7 separate regions of the Homo sapiens genome follow, and regions 1, 2, 4, 5, 6 and 7 are each linked to region 3. The links are contacts of gene promoters, found by promoter capture Hi-C in blood cells and fetal thymus (Javierre and others, 2016). All regions are on one chromosome and are shown on one strand. The core of a region is centred on a gene start or on the middle of the fragment in contact, and the rest is flanking DNA. Distances in the headings are between cores, read along the strand shown.

What was found. Contacts are between HindIII fragments. The CHiCAGO score rates a contact against its expected background, and 5 or more counts as called.
Region 1: a contact is called between the fragment with the promoter of S100A6 here and the fragment with the promoter of RAB13 in region 3, in 1 of 17 cell types (neutrophils). The highest score is 6.4, in neutrophils.
Region 2: a contact is called between the fragment with the promoter of ILF2 here and the fragment with the promoter of RAB13 in region 3, in 17 of 17 cell types (M2 macrophages, naive B cells, M0 macrophages and 14 more). The highest score is 22.5, in M2 macrophages.
Region 4: a fragment that was not itself captured here is called in contact with the fragment with the promoter of RAB13 in region 3 in 10 of 17 cell types (total B cells, naive B cells, M0 macrophages and 7 more); the score reaches 13.4 in total B cells.
Region 5: a contact is called between a fragment that was not itself captured here and the fragment with the promoter of RAB13 in region 3, in 4 of 17 cell types (naive B cells, M0 macrophages, total B cells and 1 more). The highest score is 6.8, in naive B cells.
Region 6: a contact is called between a fragment that was not itself captured here and the fragment with the promoter of RAB13 in region 3, in 2 of 17 cell types (total B cells and naive B cells). The highest score is 6.3, in total B cells.
Region 7: a fragment that was not itself captured here is called in contact with the fragment with the promoter of RAB13 in region 3 in 1 of 17 cell types (total B cells); the score reaches 5.3 in total B cells.

What each region holds. Positions count from the first base shown.
Region 1 is chr1:153,534,714-153,537,526 of GRCh38, forward strand. S100A6 (S100 calcium binding protein A6) reads right to left here and starts at 1,278. Exons shown (of 3, transcript NM_014624.4): 1 at 1,236-1,278; 2 at 489-647; 3 at 1-117. The coding sequence starts at 626. It overlaps S100A5 (S100 calcium binding protein A5), which reads right to left. Exons shown (of 3, transcript NM_001394232.1): 3 at 2,434-2,723. The coding sequence ends at 2,583. It overlaps LOC124904423 (a long non-coding RNA gene), which reads left to right. Exons shown (of 2, transcript XR_007066630.1): 2 at 191-2,813. RefSeq lists an enhancer at 1,268-1,903. The HindIII fragment of the contact is 28,060 bases long and covers 1-2,813 here.
Region 2 is chr1:153,669,214-153,672,353 of GRCh38, forward strand. It overlaps ILF2 (interleukin enhancer binding factor 2), which reads right to left and starts at 1,780. Exons shown (of 14, transcript NM_004515.4): 1 at 1,705-1,780; 2 at 958-1,017; 3 at 623-665. The coding sequence starts at 1,709. It overlaps TRX-CAT1-1 (tRNA-iMet (anticodon CAT) 1-1), which reads left to right and starts at 2,037; the gene lies at 2,037-2,108. RefSeq lists a silencer at 1,800-2,179 and enhancers at 2,220-2,359, 2,910-2,989, 3,000-3,049. The HindIII fragment of the contact is 12,664 bases long and covers 1-3,140 here.
Region 3 is chr1:153,984,994-153,987,958 of GRCh38, forward strand. It overlaps RAB13 (RAB13, member RAS oncogene family), which reads right to left and starts at 1,346. Exons shown (of 8, transcript NM_002870.5): 1 at 1,120-1,346. The coding sequence starts at 1,243. RefSeq lists enhancers at 405-634, 948-1,449 and a silencer at 1,261-1,430. The HindIII fragment of the contact is 17,219 bases long and covers 1-2,965 here.
Region 4 is chr1:153,572,589-153,575,560 of GRCh38, forward strand. No RefSeq gene overlaps it. Among named protein-coding and RNA genes, the nearest start is that of S100A2, 8.2 kb to the left of the region's middle. RefSeq lists enhancers at 196-285, 1,900-2,680, 2,681-2,972. The HindIII fragment of the contact is 6,913 bases long and covers 1-2,972 here.
Region 5 is chr1:153,552,543-153,555,433 of GRCh38, forward strand. No RefSeq gene overlaps it. Among named protein-coding and RNA genes, the nearest start is that of S100A3, 4.7 kb to the left of the region's middle. The HindIII fragment of the contact is 6,930 bases long and covers 1-2,891 here.
Region 6 is chr1:153,602,930-153,605,739 of GRCh38, forward strand. No RefSeq gene overlaps it. Among named protein-coding and RNA genes, the nearest start is that of S100A16, 8.8 kb to the right of the region's middle. RefSeq lists an enhancer at 2,101-2,810. The HindIII fragment of the contact is 400 bases long and covers 1,160-1,559 here.
Region 7 is chr1:153,498,786-153,501,779 of GRCh38, forward strand. It overlaps the pseudogene RN7SL44P. Among named protein-coding and RNA genes, the nearest start is that of S100A6, 36 kb to the right of the region's middle. The HindIII fragment of the contact is 2,671 bases long and covers 120-2,790 here.

The DNA.
Region 1 (2,813 bases), core at 28-2,527, 450 kb before region 3:
ATTGTAGATCAAAGCCAAGGCCCCCAGGAAGGTGACATACTCCTGGAAGTTCACCTCCTGGTCCTTGTTCCGGTCCAAGTCTTCCATCAGCCTTGCAATTTCAGCATCCTGCAGCTTCTAATGTGTTAGAATGTGAAATCCATACTCAGTGGTGATGACAACCCTGGATTCTTCCCCTTCCCCCTCCCAGGCAATCCTCTCTGCAAGTGGCTCTGTGCTCCCTCATCACCAAGGACCCATGTCACTTTGGCATTGCTTCTCCTCAGCTACTTCTCAGTTACTGGTCCTCATTTGGAGAGATGGATATCCGGCTGGAAGCATCCCCTACCCGCTGGGAGAGTGGGTCTACAGCTCAGGGTCTACATGTGGACCAGGGCCTCAGAATGTGGGTAAATGTGAGTCAGATGCACCTGGCACCTCTCTCTCCCCTAATCCTGCTTCCAAAGGACAAGGGTGGGAAAAGGGGTCCTGGGGAGGAGGCCACTCACCGAGCCAATGGTGAGCTCCTTCTGGATCAGCTCCTTCAGCTCCTTCTTGCTCAGGGTGTGCTTGTCACCCTCCCTGCCGGAGTACTTGTGGAAGATGGCCACGAGGAGGCCAATGGCCTGATCCAGGGGGCATGCCATGGCTGAGGGCTGGGCTTGGAGCTGGCAGCAGAGGGCCTAGTCAGTGCCATGGGAGCAAGGACTTCTCACCCACACACCCCAATAATGCTGCCTGCACTAGCCCCGCCTCCTTTGGAACCACCCAGTCTCAGGCCACACACAATGGCATCAGGAGACAGCCCAGGGCTTGAAGGGGAAGGAGAGAGCACACTAGGGCCAAGGCAAGAGAGGTGGCTTAAGGATTCTAAGAAGCATATAGGAACAGTAGCTTTGGGCACAGCTGAGAACTGTCCTTCAGGGGATCCAGAAGTTGAGGAGTATGGCTGGGCAGGGGAGGGGAATGGAGGCTGCAAAGGCAGCTTAAACACAGCTTCACAGGGCCACACATGGTGGCAATGACACACCCAGGGCACTCCCTTCCGCACCCCAAAAGAGCACACCCCATTGCGATCCCTTAGCCCAAGGCCTGCCTGGCACAGCACTGCTGCTCCTGACTATCCCTCCAGCGGGGGAGCGCCACAGATGGCCCCAGTCTGGATCCAGCGGCTGAACTGGGCAGGGGATGGCTGGACCCCCAGCGTGAGGGCAGCTGGCCCTGGAAAGTACCCAGGGCTCCTGGAGAGAACTCACCGGTAGGGAGGCGGCCAAATGCGACGCGAGCGGTCGAGGGGATGGGCTGTGTCGCAGTCCGACTGGCCTTATAGCGGTCGGTGCCCCGGAGGCCAGCTCGGCCAAGCCCACCCCGCCCGCCCAAGTCCCGCCCGCGCCCCACCCTGCGCCGTGGCTTACACAACGCACATTCGCGGTTTACCCCCTCGACTTTCCACGCCTCCTGCCCGGGGCTGTTCCGGGTTAGGACGGGATGGGGGAGCCCAGCAGTGCCCACTGCACGCCTGGTGACGAGTCTCCCCTCATCTGCGCAGCTCAGTTTGCTCAGTTTGCTCTTCGTGACACGTGACTCGGCAAGGGGAGCAGGAGGAGGACTGCGGCGGTCACCCCTGCTTCCTCTGCCAGACCGTGAATGTGACCCTCGAGCCAGCGCAGCGTCAATGTGGGCAAGGAGGGCGCCTCACAGGATGCCGGTGTCCCACAGAGGATACTCAGGGTCACCCCAGAGGAGATAGGGGGAGTAGCCAGTGGTGTAAAGGATATCTACGGCGCCCATCCCCCACCAGCAACAAGTTCCTACCAACACCTCCACTCCTTCCCCTCAGTGCCCCAAATTCCATTCACTACAGCACCTTTGGTGTTAATGTGCATGCACGTGGGAGCCCAGCCCTGTAAGCACCATTCGTTATTTACGGGGGAGTGAAGGCCTTTTCAGACCCTCCCCTGAGAAAAGATTTTGATGGAGGAGGCAGGGAGAGAAGAAAGCACTGTCCCCCATAGATGATGAGAGTGGTGCTATTGAAGGGGAAATGGTGAAGAGGGAGGGGGCTGGTGTGGAGGCCAGACATGCCCTTCCTACAGGTGCTGCCAAGGTGGCCTCCGGTGAGCTGTGGACAAGTCAGGCCTGCCTGCCTATCACCGCCCTCAGGAGCCACTCCCAACCCCTCCCAGTGTCCTCCTCTCAAAGCAACTTTCCCTCTTAACTTCCTCTGCATCCTTGCAGAGTTCCCGCCTGGCCTAACTTCCCCATTTTCCAGGCAGGCAAAACTAAGCCATGACAAAACCAATGACGTCCACACCAAAGAAGGAGAGGAATGCAGTGGGAGCCCAGGACCCTAACCCCCAGAGGCAGAAGCTGTCTCAACCCACTCAAGGAGAGACCCTTCCTGTGCTCCCCTCTCCCCAGGCCAAGGTAGACAAGACAGCTTCAAAACCAGACTCCCAGCACCTGCGATGGAAACTTTATTTCCTCCCATGGAAGGGTCCATCTGGGAGGGAGAGGAGGGCAGGGGGCCAAAGAGGGTCTGTGAGAGGAGCAGCCGAGGTCAGCAGCAAAGGGTGGAGGGTGAGGGTGGAGGGCAGCCCTGGTCACTTGTTGTCCTCTAGAAAGAAGTCGTTGTAGGCCATGCACAGCATGGTCAGGAACACCGAGTACTCCTTGAAGTCGATCTCCTGGTCGCTGTTCTTGTCCAGGCTCTTCATCAAGTCATCGATGCTGCTCTCCTTCATCTTTTGTGGACCCAGGTGGAGAGACAGCTCAGACCCCGCTCCCAGCCCTGCCCTCGCACCACTGCATGGTGTCATCCCCACCCCGAAACT
Region 2 (3,140 bases), core at 530-3,029, 320 kb before region 3:
TGACAGAGTGAGACTGTCTCAAAAAAAATAAAAAGTTCAAACAAGGATAAAAGCTGGAATAGCCATAATTTAAGCTATCACTATCTTTATAGTAACAGATATACCATAAATACAATTACTTGTTCAGAACAAAGATTATAATCATGTTTAATGCCAACAGTAGCCAAGGAATTATTCTCCCCACCATGCTTACACTGTTTCTGTATGTAAAGCAACACACAGTTGACTCAAAACCCCAAATCTTTTCACAAATCACTTTCCCTCCCTATTTCAACCATCTTTTTTTTTTTGTAGTGGTGCCATCTTGGTTCACTGCAACCTCCGCGTCCCGGGTTCAAGCAATTCTCCTGCTTCAGCCTCCCAAGTAGCTGGGATTAGACACATGCCCAGCCAACTTTTTTATTTTTAGTAGAGACGGGGTTTCACCATATTGGCCAGGCTAGTCTCAAACTCCTGACCTTCAGGTAATCCATCTGCCTCGGCCTCCCAAAGTGCTGAGATTACAGGCGTGAGGCACTGTGTCTGCCCTCTTCAACCACCATCTAACTTCATTAACTGGGAGATACTGGGCTCCATTTCAACAGTGACCAGAAAATGTGTATCATTAACCCAAGGTACTCACCAAATAGAAGTCAAATGGGATATGTGGTACAAAGGGCCTGAACCTAAAACATGAAAAACAGCCAAATTATTCCCTAGGTAGGAATCAAGCGAGATGTAAATAACACGCCAACAATTTTGAAAACATGTCAGTCCTCAGAATGAGTGACAAAGTCTCCGGGGAGGGAAAGAATCATTCTTAGCATAGTGGGGCCAAATTCATTTAACAGGAGTGCAGGAAAAGACCACAGTTGGCTCTCGCAAAACCAAGTGACATTAGTCTACTCTAAAACTCCTATTTAGATGACAAGCAGAAACTAACAACCAAGTGCAGAGATGCTAAAAGCTGGTACTCACCCTCCTCCTGGGCCTCCTCTGGAACCAAAGCGCCCACCACGACCACGGCCTCTGTCACCCCTAGAAATGCAGATTTTATTTTGACCTCATTGAAGGAATACCCACCGGCCATATCATCTTAGGTTGGCTACTTTCATCCCTCGGAACCTCCCAACGGTAGGCAAGAGACCCCACTCACACTTACACTTGTCCCCATTCCAAATGGTGCCCAGTTACACCCCCATAACCTCCTCTAAGTTAATCCAACCCCCATCAAGTAATGATGGGGCTCAGTGAGCCCTACACTTAATAACCCATAATCCTGGGCCACACGAATCCTAATACTTCGGAGGCTAAAGATTGCTCATTTCTTCACTAAGGTACACATTTATCGGGCGTGTCCTAATGTCAAGGCCTTCGCACTGAGGATGAATGCGGCTCGCTCCAGCATTCTCAGCCCGGATGACGGGGGCGGGGGAAAGGTGGGGAGCTCCTCCAGGGGCTTGAGGACACCCCCTCATCGCAACCCTTCAGAGACAAAGGTGTCGAACCCCCCTCCCCACTCCTGGGCCCGAACCCCATCCCGGGCCCAAGTTTCCCCGCCTCTACCGGCCTCCATCTCTCCCACTATCCTAGACCAGGAGTTCTCAGGTTTTTGGCCAGCCCCCGGATACATGGCCCTTTCTGATACTCCGACTTCTTTCGGCCCACGTTCACAAAGTTTTCCGTCGAATACCTGAAACCTTTCGACCGCTTCGACCCACTTACCTCATGGCGCCTTAAAACACGAACAATGGAGGCCGCACCAACCGCCCCTTCCTCTGAGTAGCAGACAACTGAAGAGGCGTCTTGCCGGCGTGTCCCAATAAAACCCGGTGCGATTGGCTCCCGCCTTACCCCATCGCTTATGCCTATTGGCTTACTTTGTCAAACCGGGCTTATGAACCAATAAAAAACGCCTACTGTGTCAGGAACTAGCCAATAAGAACTGGTTCTATAGTAATGACGAATTTTTGATCAGACATTAGGTGGCACTAAAGAAGTCAGGACAACGACTACGTAGTGTTCTATAACAATCATGAGAAATTTTAGTTCTAGATAGCAGAGTGGCGCAGCGGAAGCGTGCTGGGCCCATAACCCAGAGGTCGATGGATCGAAACCATCCTCTGCTATCGGAGTTTTTTCATTGCCCTGTACGGCATACGTAATCTACGTTTCTTTAGTGAAGGAAAATATCTTGCCAATTTTCCTACCTCAAAAATGCAACCAATATCAGCTATTTTTGCCACTAGCAGTTGAAGTTGATGGGGAAAAGGGAGTTTAGGCAACTATGAACACTGCACGTCTACAAACTCGAAGCAGGAGAAACAGGTTTTAGATAGGAGAGGAGTATATTGATTGAATTAGTGTGGAAAACATGGTTTTCCATGTCCATGGAAACAGGTGATCCACCCGCCTCAGCTTCCGAAAGTGCTGGGATTACCGGCGTGAGCCACAGCGCCCAGCTTGGTTACATAAATTCTTTAGTGGTGATTTGTGAGATTTTGGTGCACTCATCACCCGAGCAGTATACACTGAACCCAACTTGTAGACTTTTATCCCTCACCTACCTCCCTTCCATAAGTACTTTTTCGATATTTAATTTACTACAGCAGAACGTAAACATCTTAAGTCTAAACGTATTCTGGCCACGTAACCACCATCCAGATTAAAATAAATATTATTAATTTTTAAAAAACAAGCAAACAAAAAGCGGACCGAGTGCGGTGGCTTGTGGCCACCCAGCACTGTGGGAGGCCGAGACGGGTGGATCACCCGAGGTCAGGAGTTCGAGATCAGCCTGGCCAACATGGTGAAACTCCGTCTCTACTAAAAATACAAAAATTAGCCGGCGTGCTGGCGGGCGCCTGTAATTCCAGTTACTCAGGAGGCTGAGGCAGGAGAATCTCTTGAATCCGGGAGGCGGAGGTTGCAGTGAGCTGAGATGGCGCCACTGCACCCCAGCCTGGGCGATAGAGGGAGACTCCGTTTAAAAAAAAAAAAATCTTACTTGAGGTTTGTTGAGCTTCTTGAATCAATGGCTTCAGGTTTGTCGTCCATTTATTAAATTTATCAGCTATTATCTCTTCAAGTATTAGTTTTACCTATTATTTCCCTCGTTCCTGAACTCCAAATAAAGACGGGTTAGACTTTTCCCCCAGTAA
Region 3 (2,965 bases), core at 96-2,595:
TTTTGGGAGGGAAAAGGTGACGAAAATTCTGCATGGAGGCTTAAAATCCTTAGGCTGCCTCTTGGGTCCATTCAGTTATACCAGCTGACAACTCTCTGAATTCAGTCTCTGTCTCCCCCCAGATATTACTTTCACATTCCTCTTCTCTGTTTTCTTAGAGCCCTCTACTCTTGGTATCCCACCTACCCTCCTAGTAGAGAGTAAGGAAAAAAGTAGCTGAAGCCAGTCTATGTGAATTAACTAGTGGGCCAAACTTGGCACTAGGAAAGTCTGAGGCTAAACAGGATTACTTTTGAGACAATTAGGAAAGAGGGGCATTTTTCCTTTTCCTTTGTAACCAGAATTGTCGTGAGACTCTTCCTGTCTATTTCCCAAGCCAGAGGAGATGAAGAAAGAAGAGAAGGGAGGAGGGGAGACAATGTTCTTCTTAGTAGAAACTTGGGCACCTCCCCCAAGCCTGCTGGGGGCCCCTGGGAGGAGGATGAGTCACCAGGCTGACTCAGAGACCCCAAAAGTCCCCTCATTTCCACGTTCCTCACCAAGCTGGCTGCATATTCATGATCACAGTCCTTGGGCCACCCTCCAGCACACCCAGCCACCTTGTTCCACCCTTCCCAAACCCTTGTTCAGCTGAGGTGCAGGGAGACTGGGGCAGGGAACCTGGGAAGTAGATGGTGAGGTGGGGACACAGTGGGAGAGTTTGAAGCTCAGCAAGACAGAAAGAGGCTAGCATCGGATCGGGAGAAAAAGATGTGGCGGACAGGGATACAGGAAACATGGAGATAGGATCGAGAGAGTTCTAGGTGGTGGGGGTAGGGGAAGAGGGGAACAGAGAAAAATAGAGAAGAGTTCTTGTGGATTTGGGGAGACTAAGGCGATGGTACCAAGAAAATGAGGAGCTGGCAGCAGTTGAAGAGTTACCTGAAGGCCTCAGAGAGGTGAGAGGTTTGGTTACTATACAGAGACATGCACGGGGGAAGGGTCAGAGCCAGGGGTTGAGGGACTAGAATTTAGGAGCCTTACTCTAAGGGGACTGAAAAGTGGGGTCACTAGTAATCCGGGAGCCGGAGAAGGAGGTCACAGGAGAGTCGGGGTCTGGGACATGGCCAGCGGGCTCACCGATGGTGGAGATGTAAGTGTTGTTGAAGTTGTCCTCTGCAAAGCGAATGATCAGACAAGTCTTGCCCACCCCCGAGTCCCCGATCAGCAGCAACTTGAAGAGGTGGTCGTAGGCTTTGGCCATGGCGGACACCGGGGGAGCCGGGGGAGGGGTGGGGAGCGCCCGGCACTGGTAGGCGGGACTGGACGGTTGGCAAACAGAGCGGCACGGAGCCCAGGCCAGGAAGAAGTTTTCCTCCCTCTCCGCCCAGGCTCCGGGAAAGAGGAGAGGCGGCACCCCTCCGGGCTCCACCCCCTGCCCGCCCACCCTTTTGAGCAGGCCAAGGCTGCCAGCCCGGCCTCTGTTCTCTCGGTTTTCCCTTCCTAGCTTAGGCCGGCCTGTCTCTCTCGCTATTTTCCACAGCCTTTCGGTAATTGTAGCTCCCCTCTTAGGACCTTACTCTTCCATTCTGAGGCCAGAGAGGCTGGGGTGAAGGGAAGTAGAGGTTTAACCACGACGACCAGAAATTTTAGAAGAGAAATTTTAGAGGGATTAGGGGAAGAGAACCAAGAGTTTTGGGAATAAGGGTGAAGGTAGGGAGAGCACTAGAAATTGAAAAAAAAAAATGGGGCTGAGTTTTGGAGATGCTATTCAACGAAGCTAGAAGATGAGTTATCATCGGTTTCTGGGGCTGAGTAAAAGGCAGTCCTAGAATTTTACTGTTAGTTGTCCAAGCCCTTAGTTCTATGGGTCCCAATTCACTTTGAAAAAAGCGGGATGCGCAGAAGTAGGTTATTTGTTGAGTCAGTCTGCCCCCTGGTGGAACAGGGTGAAAACGTAAATTAGTTATACAGAATCGGCCCCACCACCCCAACACACACAGCCTACCTAGACACATCCTGGGGCTTCAGTTGGAACGATCTCTCTTATGGGGACCCATGTGTGATTTCTCTGACCAAATAGCTTAGGAAAACAGAGATTTGAACTAAAAATGTCATTCTTTACGTGAATCTTTTAATATGGCCCACTTAAGGTGCAGTACTCCTGAAATCTCACTCAATAGGCCATGAATGTGTAGCCTTGGTAACCAGGAAGCTGAAATATGAACAGCACGGGTATAAAGAAACAAGTTTGCCGGGCGCGGTGGCTCACGCCTGTAATCCCAGCACTTTGGGAGGCCGAGGCGGGCGGATCACGAGGTCAGGAGATCGAGACCATCCTGGCTAACATGGTGAAACCCCATCTCTACTAAAAATACACACACACACACAAAATTAGCCGGGCGTGGTGGCAGGCGACTGTAGTCCTAGCCACTTGGGAGGCTGAGGCAGGAGAATGGCGTGAACCCGGGAGGCAGAGCTTGCAGTGAGCCGAGATTGCGCCACTGCACTCCAGCTTGGGCGACAGAGCCAGACTCCGTCTCAAAAAAAAAAAAAAAAGAAAGAAAGAAAGAGAGTAAAAGAGAAACAAGTTTATCTCTGCCTTTAGAAAAAAATTATTCTTGCTATATGTGTGCTGGGGGTGGAAAAAAATACGAAACACGAAAGAAAGAAAATATTATCTAAGACCTGTTGCGGTGGCTCACACTTGTAATCCCAGCACTTTGGGAGGCCAACGTGAGAGGATCCCTTAAGCCCAGGAGTTCAAGACCAGCTTGGGCAACATAGTGAGACTGCTTCGACAAAAAAAAAAAAAAAAAAAAAAAAAAATTAGCCATACATGGTGGTGTGGCCTGTAGTCCCAGCCGCAGCTACTTGGGGGACAGAAGTGGGCAGAACACTTGAGCCCAAGAGTCCAAGGCTGTAGTGAGCCACGATTATGATGCCACTGCTCTCCAGCCTCGGTGATAGAGTAAGATCCTGTTTC
Region 4 (2,972 bases), core at 186-2,685, 410 kb before region 3:
TGAGTTCTCACGCCTGACACCTGGCTCGAGAACACAGGATATTTCCACCCTGGCCTGCCAGCTCCTCATGGTTTCCCACAGCTAGAGGCCGCTGCTGTCCTGGCAAGGGCATAGGCCTGGGTATAAGGCAGGCTTGAGTCTGAAGCCAGGCTCCACTATTTGCCAGCATAGAGGACCAAGAAGGAACAATGTCACTTGGTAAAACTGAAACTGGTGCTAACAGGGATCAACATAAATCAGGGTGATTCACAGTCTTCCCAGAAACACCCAACTTGAGAGATGCATTCTGTGTTCTGATAAATCCAAGTTACTTTCTAAATCTTAGAAAGGGACTAAGGGCAGCTTCAGAAAAAGAAAAGTGACTCAGGAGAGTGGGTGGTGATTTGTAATATTATAGTGTGTTGCTCATGAGGAAGTGGTTTAAAGAAAGACATTTTTGGAGATCAATATGTAATACTAGGAAATGGTTATTGCAAAGGAATTAAGACTTTGGATTCTGGATTTGAATCTTGACTCCACCATATTCTAATTCTGTCAATCAAGATCTTTCAGCTAAAAGAGACAGAAGTTTAATTCAAGCTCACCAAAGTAAAAATGTGGTGTATTGTGTTACATCGCATTAAGGTCACTGTGATAATTCACAGGATCAATAAACCACAGCCATGGGGACCAGAATGAGGAACTCAACACCATCCATCCATCCATTCTTCTCTCATGCTGTTTGTGTCTTTTTGCATGTGGGCATCACCCTTAGTATAGCATAGCAGAGCCTCTCCAAATAATGAGGAATGTGGCCACAGACTGCTCCAGCTTTGTAAACCCATTATCTATATATTAATCCAGAGAAGAGCGCTGATTGGCCCTGCTTGTCTCATATACTTAGCCATGGGCCAATTTCTGTTGCCAGGGAGACGGAGTGCTATGATTTGCCAGTGTGGTCAAGGGTCTCTTACTAAAAATAGGAAGCAAGTTACCACAGTTACTACACTCACCATGTAACCTTACAAACGTTACTTAACCTTTTCCTGAGCATCAGTTTCCTCTTCTGTAACATGGGAATACTATTGCCCACTTCACCTATCAAATGAGATAACACATTTGTATGTATGTAAAGTATAGGGAGGACTCAGTGAGTGTTATTACATGTATCAATAGAAGAAGAAACTGTGGGCCGGGCGTGGTGGCTCACGCCTGTAATCCCAGCACTTTGGGAGGCCGAGGCGGGTGGATCACAAGGTCAGGAGTTTGAGACTAGTCTGGCCAACATGGTGAAACCCCAACTCTACTAAAAATACAAAAATTAGCCGGCATGGTAGCACACGCCTGTAATCCCAGCTACTCAGGAGGCTGAGGCAGAAGAATCACTTGAACCCAGGAGACGGAGGTTGCAGTGAGCAGAGATCATGCCACTGCACTCCAGCCTGGATGACAGAGCAAGACTCTGTCTCGGAAAAAAAAAAAAAAGAAAAGAAAAGAAAAAGAAACTAACATATACTTAGAGCCAGTGTCATGGCCAAGATGGGGCCATCTGATGTATCAGCAACATAGAACCATGACCAAACCCCACATCCACTAAAATACAGGGATCATGATCTACTCCTGGTTTTCCTGTCAATATTTATTTATCCTTTGAGCCCACTTTTTGTCATCTGAAAGTATCAGGTGTTAGTTTAAGAAAAATAGTAAAGAAAACCTTAAAATTGAGAATAATCTGTTAATTTGCTACATTATTTCTCCTAGTTTGGAAATGCCCATATTTTTCTCATTATAATTGGTAAAACATCTAAGTCTAGCTTCAAAAGTAATGGACTTTGATGACAGCTTGCTTGATCCAGTTCAATGCTTCCCCCCATTTCAAAATAAGAAACTGGCTCTCCCCCTCCCCCTCCCCCTCCCTCTCCCTCTCCCCTTTCCACAGTCTCCCTCTGATGCCCAGCCGAAGCTGGACTGTACTGCCGCCATCTCTGCTCACTGCAACCTCCCTGCCTGATTCTCCTGCCTCAACCTGCCCAGTGCCTGCGATTGCAGGCGCGCGCCGCCACGCCTGACTGGTTTTCGTATTTTTTTGGTGGAGACGGGGTTTCGCTGTGTTGGCCGGGCTGGTCTCCAGCTCCTAACCAGAAGTGATCTGCCAGCCTCGGCCTCCCAAGGTGCTGGGATTGCAGATGGAGTCTCATTCACTCAGTGCTCAATGTTGCCCAGGCTGGAGTGCAGTGGCATGATCTCGGCTCGCTACAACCTCCACCTCCCAGCCGCCTGCCTTGGCCTCCCAAAGTGCCGAGATTGCAGCCTCTGCCCGGCCGCCACCCTGTCTGGGAAGTGAGGAGCGTCTCTGCCTGGCTGCTCATCATCTGGGACGTGAGGAGCCCCTCTGCCTGGCTGCCCAGTCTGGGAAGTGAGGAGCGCCTCTTCCCGGCCGCCATCCCGTCTAGGAAGTGAGGAGCGTCTCTGCCCGGCCGCCCATCATCTGAGATGTGGGGAGCGCCACTGCCCCACCGCCCCGTTTGGGATGTGAGGAGCACCTCTGCCCGGCCGCGACCCCGTCTGGGAGGTGAGGAGCGTCTCTGCCCGGCCACCCTATCTGAGAAGTGAGGAGCCCCTCCGCCCAGCAGCCGCCCCGTCTGAGAAGTGAGGAGCCCCTCCACCCGGCAGCCGCCCCGTCTGGGAAGTGAGGAGCGTCTCCGCCCGGCAGCCGTCCCGTCCAGGAGGTGAGGGGGCAGCCCCCGCCCGTCAAGCCGCCCCGTCTGGGAGGGAGGTGGGGGGTCAGCCCCCGGCCGGCCAGCCGTCCCGTCCGGGAGGTGGGGGGCGCCTCTGCCCGGCCGCCCCTTCTGGGAAGTGAGGAGTCCCTCTCCCCGGCCGCCACCCCGTCTGGGAGGTGTTCCCAACAGCTCATTGAGAACGGGCCATGATGACGATGACGGTTTTGTCGAATAGAAAAGGGGGAAATGTGGGGAAAAGATAGAGAAATCAGA
Region 5 (2,891 bases), core at 334-2,833, 430 kb before region 3:
GTCCACTGGGAGAGGACTGGGAGAGACTCAGACTGAGACTGCGGGGAGGGCGGGAGCTCATTCTGGGAGGTGAGGCCTGAGGGGTGGGGTGGGGGGACAGAGTTGTCAAGGTACAGGACTTTGGGGTTGGCAGACTGTCATGGAAAGAACCTCTAGGCTCTACCTTCCTCTTGCCACCTGCCCTCAAGCATGTTACATTCTTTACCTTGTTAGAGCCTTAATTTCCTTACCTCCAAAATGGGTTTGGAAGATTCCTACTTTAAGAATCCGACATGAAAGCGCTTTCTATCACTCGCTGTCACTGTGGACAATGTCAGGGCAGAGGCCTCTGAGTCCAATTCAACAAACATGCACTGAGTCACCTCAGTGGGGCTTCAGGGAGGGCGGGAGGGGAGGGAAAGAACCAGCCTCTCCCCAACAGTTCACTTGGTCCTGCCTCCTCCATGCAGGTGGAGGGGAGAGCTGTAACTTCCCTTCCCTTGCTTTCACAAACTCTTCTTGGGATGATTGGACTCTCTGCCCTGCTGGAAGTTCTTCCCCAGCATCTCCCCTGAATCTCCCTTTCTGCAGTGGTTCCGAATGCATCCCACATGAACCGCCCCTCCAAGGCCTGGAGAGGGACCGTCCTCCTCCCACACCCCGTCCAGTGTCCACACACTCAATTGTTCATGCTCGGGCTGAGCCCAGGACCCTTGCTGCTCACCTTCCAGAGCCGCCTCCCCCGCCCCCACTGCAGATGTGGAGCTGACCACTGAGAAATGCACCATATTTGGAGGGCAAGGAGCTCTCTCCCCGTAGGGGCAACGCGTGTGGGTGCATGAAGGGTGAGAGCTGACACTATCTGATCTGGCAGGACTTATTATAGCACTGACTCTCTCTCCCCTGCACCCATTCTCCCTGGCTCTGTCGCCCCAATATCACCACTATCACCATACGCCCTTGGAAACTGCACCGCCTCCCTGAAGGTCAGTGTCTGGTTCTGAACCTCGGGGAAGAACAAGATAAATTGTCCTGAGCATCTGGATATCCCACATGCTTGTGCCAAAAGGGCCTGGGCCCCAGAGACAGGGTGAACCCACCCCAATCCCATAGCCCCATGGGACCAACGAACCTTGTCAAAATGATTAGCTTCCTTTCTCATCATCTGAGCCAAATATAGGGAAGGTGTAGGAAGGGGTATTTGATGACTGGGACTGGTGTAGAGCCAGGAAGGCCTTTGCTACAGAATTGGGGACTGGGCCTGGGGAGATGGGAAGAGGATCTGAACTGAGATCAAAGAGGCCTGTGGACCTATTACTTAGACCTACTACTTCTTTTGACTGCCAAGTCATTGACTGATTGTGACCAATTCATAGATGAGAGCAGTGAGTCAGTGGAGAGATCAAGTGACCTAAAGACAAGGGCATGGGGGCCCTATTTCAGCCAGTCCCTTGTCTCAGAGCCCAGCTTTGCCTTCATTCTGTCCTTTCCTGGAGGGTTAATAGGCTGCCAGGGATTAATGCGAAACAGCAAATGCCAAAGTGACAGTAGGGCAGGATGCAGGGTGAGGTATGTGTTCCTGAGGCTCTCCTCCAGCAGCAGCTCTAGGAGGAAGTGGGAGACAACTGGCCCAACAAACTTTTGAACAGAGCTATTTCTAGACTCTCCTCCTCTGTGCCTCTGCACAGAGATTTGGGGAGAGGAAAGGGGATAAGGGAAGATTGCCGGAACCATCTGGGAAAGTGGTGTTTGTTAGTTTGTCAAATGCCCAGAAGGAAAGGAAATCAGCCTCTTTCAGAACCTGCCCAGCTCCAAGGGCAGCCAGCTGAGGCTAGTCTCCACCAGCCAAAACAGCCCCAGAACCTGAGCCAAGAGAAGCCAGGAATTGTTGTGAGCCTAAGGCCCAAAAGAAACCAGACTGCACTAATCCACCAGGAGCAAGTGGGCCTGCTTCCCCCAGTGACTCAGGATAGGGACACTGAGAGTCTGGATGCTGCTCATCCAGGTCCCTTTCACCTTACACAAAGCCCCAGGCTTTGGAGATGGCTGTGGGAAGGGGAGGAAGGCCCGGACTGCCACCCTAGTGTCCACAGGGATGAGGACCTTTCTTAAGACATGGGTCAAGTCCTGACGCTACTCCTTATTTAACCTCTCCCAGCCTCTGTTTCCTTGTCTGTGACGTGCAGAAACTAATAGCATAGCTCTGCTCTCACCCAGTTGCCCCGAGGATTAAATGAGATGACACTTGAATAGACCAGCAGAGTGCCTAGCTGGAGGGAGTGCTCCACAAATGACAGATGCTGCTCCCTCTCAGTTTCCTCATCTGTAAAAACGGCCTAATGATAGCTCCTCTCGGGGTTACCATGAGGCTGAAATTACAGTGTGCATGAAAGGAACTCTGAGAACTGCTACAGAAATGTTAATTACCATCATCATGATTCCCTGACCTATAGTTACTGGCTCCCTTTCCTACAGGATATTAGGAAGGTGGGCTTCTCTCTTTTTATTGCTATGAAAAGAGACCATGTATCATTGAAGGCCTGCTCCGCCTTGCCTCGCCAGCCCCAGATGTGCAGTCAAGGCAGAATCATAAGTGAGAACAAGCAATTGTCCCAGCGCCTTCTCACTTGGCCTTTTCTGTCTCTGGGGACCCTATCTGAGCTACTCTGGAAGTGGTTCTCAAAGATCGATTTCCCAAGTAAGTAAAAAAACAGTTCAGGCCAGGCATGGGGGCTCACGCCTGTAATCCTAGCACTTTGGGAGGCCGAGGCGGGCGGATCACGAGGTCAGGAGATCGAGACCATCCTGGCTAACACGGTGAAGCCCCGTCTCTACTAAAAATACAAAAAAATTAGCCGGGCATGGTGGCGGGCGCCTGTAGTCCCAGCTACTCGGGAGGCTGAGGCAGGAGA
Region 6 (2,810 bases), core at 110-2,609, 380 kb before region 3:
GATAGATAGATAGATAGATAGATAGATAGATAGATGATAGATAGATAGCAGATAGGTAGATAGGTAAGTAGATAAATAGATGATAGATTGATAGATACATAGATGGATGGATGGATAGATAGATAGAACCACCCCCCTCCCCCCGCCACCAACAAGACATGTTAACTCATTCTTTATCATTCAGTCAAGGTAGCATAGTAGGCCGGGCACGGCAGCTCATGCCTGTAATCCCAGCACTTTGGGAGGCTGAGGCAGGTGGATCTCTTGAGGCCAGGAGTTTGAGACCAGCCTGGCCAACATAGTGAAACCCCTTCTCTACTAAAAATACAAAAATTAGCTGAGTGTGGTGGCGCCAGCCTGTAATCCCAGCTACTGGGGGTGGGAAAGGAGGAACAGTACAACACCTTGAGTGCCACCCTGTTCCAGGGCAGATCAATTTTAGAAGGCTGAGGATCTGTAAGTGGATGCCAATAAAACTATTGTGCCTGTGCATCTTTTTGGAAAGTCTTAAGCTGTTCCCATTTAAAAACTGCTGATGCCCAGTTCTGCAGGGTGGGTTTCCTACTGGGATCTCCCTCAGTGCAAGAGCAGGGGAGAAACCAAGGAACTGGCAATGTCCCCTCCAGCAGCTGCAAGTCATGGCTTCCATTCCACCTGGCCTCCCACACTCCTTCTTCCTTGCACCTCTACTTCTCCATCCCACAACTTCTGTCTGTATCGGGATAGTCTACTAATGAGAATTCAGAGCCTCAGTGCCACTCATGGCTCAAGACTAAGGGTCATGGGGGTTCCCTCTCTTGGCTTTGGAGCCCCCCTCCCTCTGTCTCTGTATAGGGGAGCTTCTTCCTTCTCCCTTCCTTCTTGTCCCTCTTGCCTATTAAACTCTCCGCTCCTTAAAACCACTCCACGTGTGTCCATGTCGTTTTATCTAAACTGGCATGAGCACCAAGAACCCTGGTGTTCCTCCACTCATCAGAGCCGTATCATTTTAGTGCGTTGGCCAGGAAAGGAAATTCGTTCATCAGACTGAGTCAAGGAAACTTATTTTAAGCTATTTGTGGCCTTTAATAATTGAGTAAGGTGTACTCCTATGAACAAAATTTGGAGCATGTTTATTTCTCTGCCTGGTTCCTCTAGAATTTGGAAACTATCTGAATCAAGCTTGACAAGCAGAGCCAATAAAAGCCGCTTTGGGAGAACTGGCCTCATACCTTGTCTACACAGTCTCTGGACAGGGTTCCTAATCTGTAGTCAGTAAAGAATGTCATTTTTTAACACGTCTGGGAGCTCCGAGTTTATCTTGGGACCTCAAGAGGAGAGGATCACCCAACTAACAGGTATTTGAGGTTTGTATCCTCAAATACAAACTTTAGGCTTTAATAGTCTTATCTGAAATTCCTTGTGAAACAGAGTTTCATCAAAGCCAATCAAAAGGCCTGTGTACAAATAACCATTCTTGCTGCACTTTATGCAAATAATCAGGGCAAGTATAAGACTACAGTTTATTCATAACTTGTTTTTACCAAGAACGAGGACTAGAGAGAAAAATTGTGCTCCAAAGCTTATCATACATTTTTTTGTTTTTTGTTTTTGTTTTCAAGCTTTTCGCCTACATTTTAGACTAACCCTGCTTATTCCTGTGAATCAAGCAGTGATCTCCTGCAGCTTGGAAGAAAAATTAAGGGATGGGTAATATAAAATCTGAATCAATATATTAGTTCTGGGCAATTATTCTGCAAATTCTACCAGGTAATAAAAGTGAGTAGGGTGCCCATAACCCAGAGGTTTCTTCGTTTAGGAAAATAAAACCAAGGAACTTCATAGACCCCCAAAGGGGAATTCTATATCTTGACAGGTAAAAGTTTAGATGGAAATTATCTACCACACCACACTTATGGAAATAGCTATACTCACTCTATTATTTGCAATAGGATTATACATGGTAGCACCTTCTAACTGAAATATTAAACAGAGAGTTTCCATTGCTGTCATATTTTGCTTAATCATTATCCTTATAGCAGGGATAATAGCTACTAATGAAAAGGAAGCATAAAAGTTTTACTACCACTGAATCTGCTAGGACTTTTTATTGGGTTTAGTGATGCAGTTTTCAATGAAACATGCTGCTTTCGGATTAATGCCTCTAGTTAAAAGAAAATCTACAAGTACTTAAAAATCAAATCAAAATTATTGATCCCCGAGTGGCTACAATGCCTCTTTAATAAATTCCAGTCTTCTTTATGGAATTGGTTAACCCCTTTATTAAGCCCTCTCTTGCTTATGTGTCTTGTATTGATATTTGGACCCTGTATACACAATACTATAACTCAAATTGTTTCTTCTCATCTAGAAGCAATCAAACTCCAAATGGTGCTGTAAACAGAACCACACATAGACACATCATTCTTCTGAGGACCCTTAGATTGACCCCAGGAGGAGCCCTAGCTGCTCTTCCCCATTCGACGCCCTTTTGCAACAAGAAGTAGCCAGAAGGAGTCGTCGCCCAAAACTCCCTAACAGCAGTTAGTGTGGCATCTCCACAGGGGGGAATGTTGTAGGAGTTATTAAGAAATTATTTTAGGCAGATAGAGAGGAAAATGGGTCCTTGGGTCCTTGGGAAGTTTTTTGTTTTGTTTCTTTTTCTTTTTTTTTGAGACGGAGTTTTGCTCTTGTCGCCCAGGCTGGAGTGCAATGGTGCGATCTTGGCTCACCACAACCTCCGCCTCCTGGGTTCAAGCGATTCTCTGGCCTCAGCCTCCCGAGTAGCTGGGATTACAGGCATGCGCCACCACGCCCGGCTAATTTTGTAT
Region 7 (2,994 bases), core at 205-2,704, 490 kb before region 3:
GTTTGAACCCAGGAGCTTGAGGCTACAGTGGGCTAGGATCACACCACTGCACTCTAGCCTGGGTGACAGTGAGATTCCGTCTTAAAAAAAAAAAAAAAGACACCATTTATGGCCTGGCAAGCTTCACTTGAGGGTGAATTGACAGGAACCAGCTGTTTATGCTGGAACTGAAAAGGCTTTATTCTAGGGGGCCAAGGTAAACGAGCCAGAGTATGTGTTAATTTTTTTAAAGAAGAGCAGGACCTAGACAGCTATTGCTCTGCAAGCAGATGAGAAAGAGAGGAAAAGGGTTTGACTGCCCTAGCTGGTGCCTGGACAGACTTTCAGTTAACCCTAGCATTGCCTGTCCCTTCTCATTTCCACCCTACATGGTCAACTCATCCCTAAGTCTCTCTGGGGCTCCAAAGTGTAGGTCAGCTCCACCTCCTCCCCAGTCCTTTGCAGGCATCATATTCTGTTCTGAGGCTTCCTCCACTCTGTTTTATCCATCAGCACACCTCCTTTGCCTTTCCAGCTTGGGGAAATGTTTAAATCTCCTACCCACTGTCTGATCCACCTTATATCATCTCTGCTGTGATGGGTTTATAGTCGCCCTTTAATGGGATCTCTGAAGGGAGACACAAACACAAGTCCTCAACCCATTATTTGGAATAAAATATCCTTTATGCTTCATTTGTTGTATTTCCTCCCAGACTTTTTTATAGCCATAAGTTTACGTTTCGCACCATACTAATTTCACAGGAGATTCATAAGTTTTCAGAAAAGAAAAGGGAAAAAGTACAGACAAATAACTTTGGAAAATTTCTCCCTTTTAGAAATTCACAGTACACATTAGTATAATAATGCGTCAGTCAATATTCAGAAATGCGAGCAGCAGAAACTGCCTCAAACTGATTTGAGGAGAACAAAATTTTACTTAAATAACACTAAATTCTAGTATTCTCAAAAAACTGAAATAATTCTAGATTCAAGAAGACTAGAGAACTAGGGTTTAGAAGGTGGGCAAGAACAAAGGAAAGTTACACAAAGAGAAATGCCAAAATCACACCGCCAAAACAGCCTGGTGAGGACCTTGGCATAGTCACTCTGAACACTGAATGGCATGGGCACTGAGGAATGTGGCTGGCCCCTGCCAGGAAGGGTTCCCCAGCACCTCTGCTTCCGGGGGTAACCAGCCCAGCTCCAACTCCCAGACAGGTGTATCTATCCGACTGGTGAAGCCACCAGGGAAGAGAAAAGGTAAGGAACTGGGATCATCCGCTTCTGCTGTAGGAGATGGACACTGCCTGATGAGACGAGAAAGTCCACACATGGAAGATGAGGGTCCAGGAGCTGGGTGGCCAAAAAGAAAAAATATCCAATAAGGCACTGAGAAGACTTGCCAAAATGAAATGGTTTTACATGGTTTTGCTTAGATTTTCCTAGCCTTGTTTTACCAGATCCCTTTTTCTGGAACAATTATTCACAAACATCTCATAGAAAGTAGTGTTCTACAGAAAGCAATATGAGAAATGCTGTCATATAAGTTTAGAGAAATTGTTACCATTTTTACACAAAATTGGAATTACACTGTACATACAATTTTGCATCATTTAATGTGTAACAGCATATAACTTACCTGTATATCAGTTAACAGAGCATAGTTAATTTTCTTTTCTCTTTTTTTCCTTTTTTTTAAGAGACCAGGTCTTGCTCTATTGCCCAGGCTAGAGTGCAGTAGCTATTCACAGGAGTGATCCCAATACTGATCAGCACAGGAGTTTTGACCTGCTGCATTTCTGACCTGGGCCAGTTCACCCTCCTTAGGCAACCTGGTTGTCCCCTGCTCCCAGGAGGTCACCATATTGATGTCAAACTTAGCGTGGACACCCAATTAATTGGCATAGTGCACTGCAGCCCAGGACTCATAGGCCCAAGAGATCCTCCCGCTTCAGCCTCCTGAGTAGCTGGAACTATAGGCACGCACCAGCACACCCAGCTAATTTTTTATTTTTTGTACAGACGGGGTCTCCCGTCTGGTTGGCCAGGCTGGTCTTGAACTCCTGGCCTCAAGCGACCCTCCCGCCTTGGCCTCCCAAAGTGCTGGGATTACAGGTGTGAGCCACTACACCCAGCCTGTTTTTCTTTTTAATACTTCCTCACCCTTTCCTTTGCTTTCTGCTTTCATTTTATGTGTCCTGTTTTGTTTTATCAGATGCTCTGGTTATTTGGAAAACATATTTTTCTCTCCATTTTCCCTGCATGTACTTTAAAGATTTTCAAAAACATTTTTACAAATATTATTCTAATCTTGAAAATTAAGAATAAATGTATATCCTTTTATTCTCCTCATGTAAAATGAGGAAATTAATACACTTTTACTCTTTCTCAATCTGCTTGCTACTTACTGGTGTCCAGCAATATGGCTTGTGACTTAAACTCTGATTCTTGCTAATTCTTTTTTCTTTTTTGAGAGGGAGTCTCGCTCTGTCGCCCAGGCTGAAATGCAGTGGCACAATATCGGCTCACTGCAACCTCCACCTCCCAGGTTCAAGCGATTCTCCTGCCTCCGCCTCCCGAGTAGCTGGAATTACAGGTGCCCACCACCACACCCAGCTGATTTTTGTATTTTAGTAGAGACGCGGTTTCACCATGTTGGCCAGACTGGTCTCGAACTCCTGACCTCAGGTGATCCTACCACCTCGGCCTCCCAAAGTTCTGGGATTACAGGTGTGAGCCACAGGGCCCAGCCTGATTATTGCTAATTAATTGTATTTTCATTTTATTTTTTCTTGAAATAATTATTTTTTAAGCTTACAGTAAATTTTATTATTATATTTCAATTATTTAGATCTAACAGTATGTTTAACCAGTTTTATTGGTTTACCATCAAGAATTCTAAGTCACCATTCCAGAATTCTTAAAATTTTTATTCATCTTTTAGCCAGTCTTGAAGTAATTTACTTCAAGAAGAGAACATGATTCTTTACTTCAAGAAGAGAATATTAGGGACCT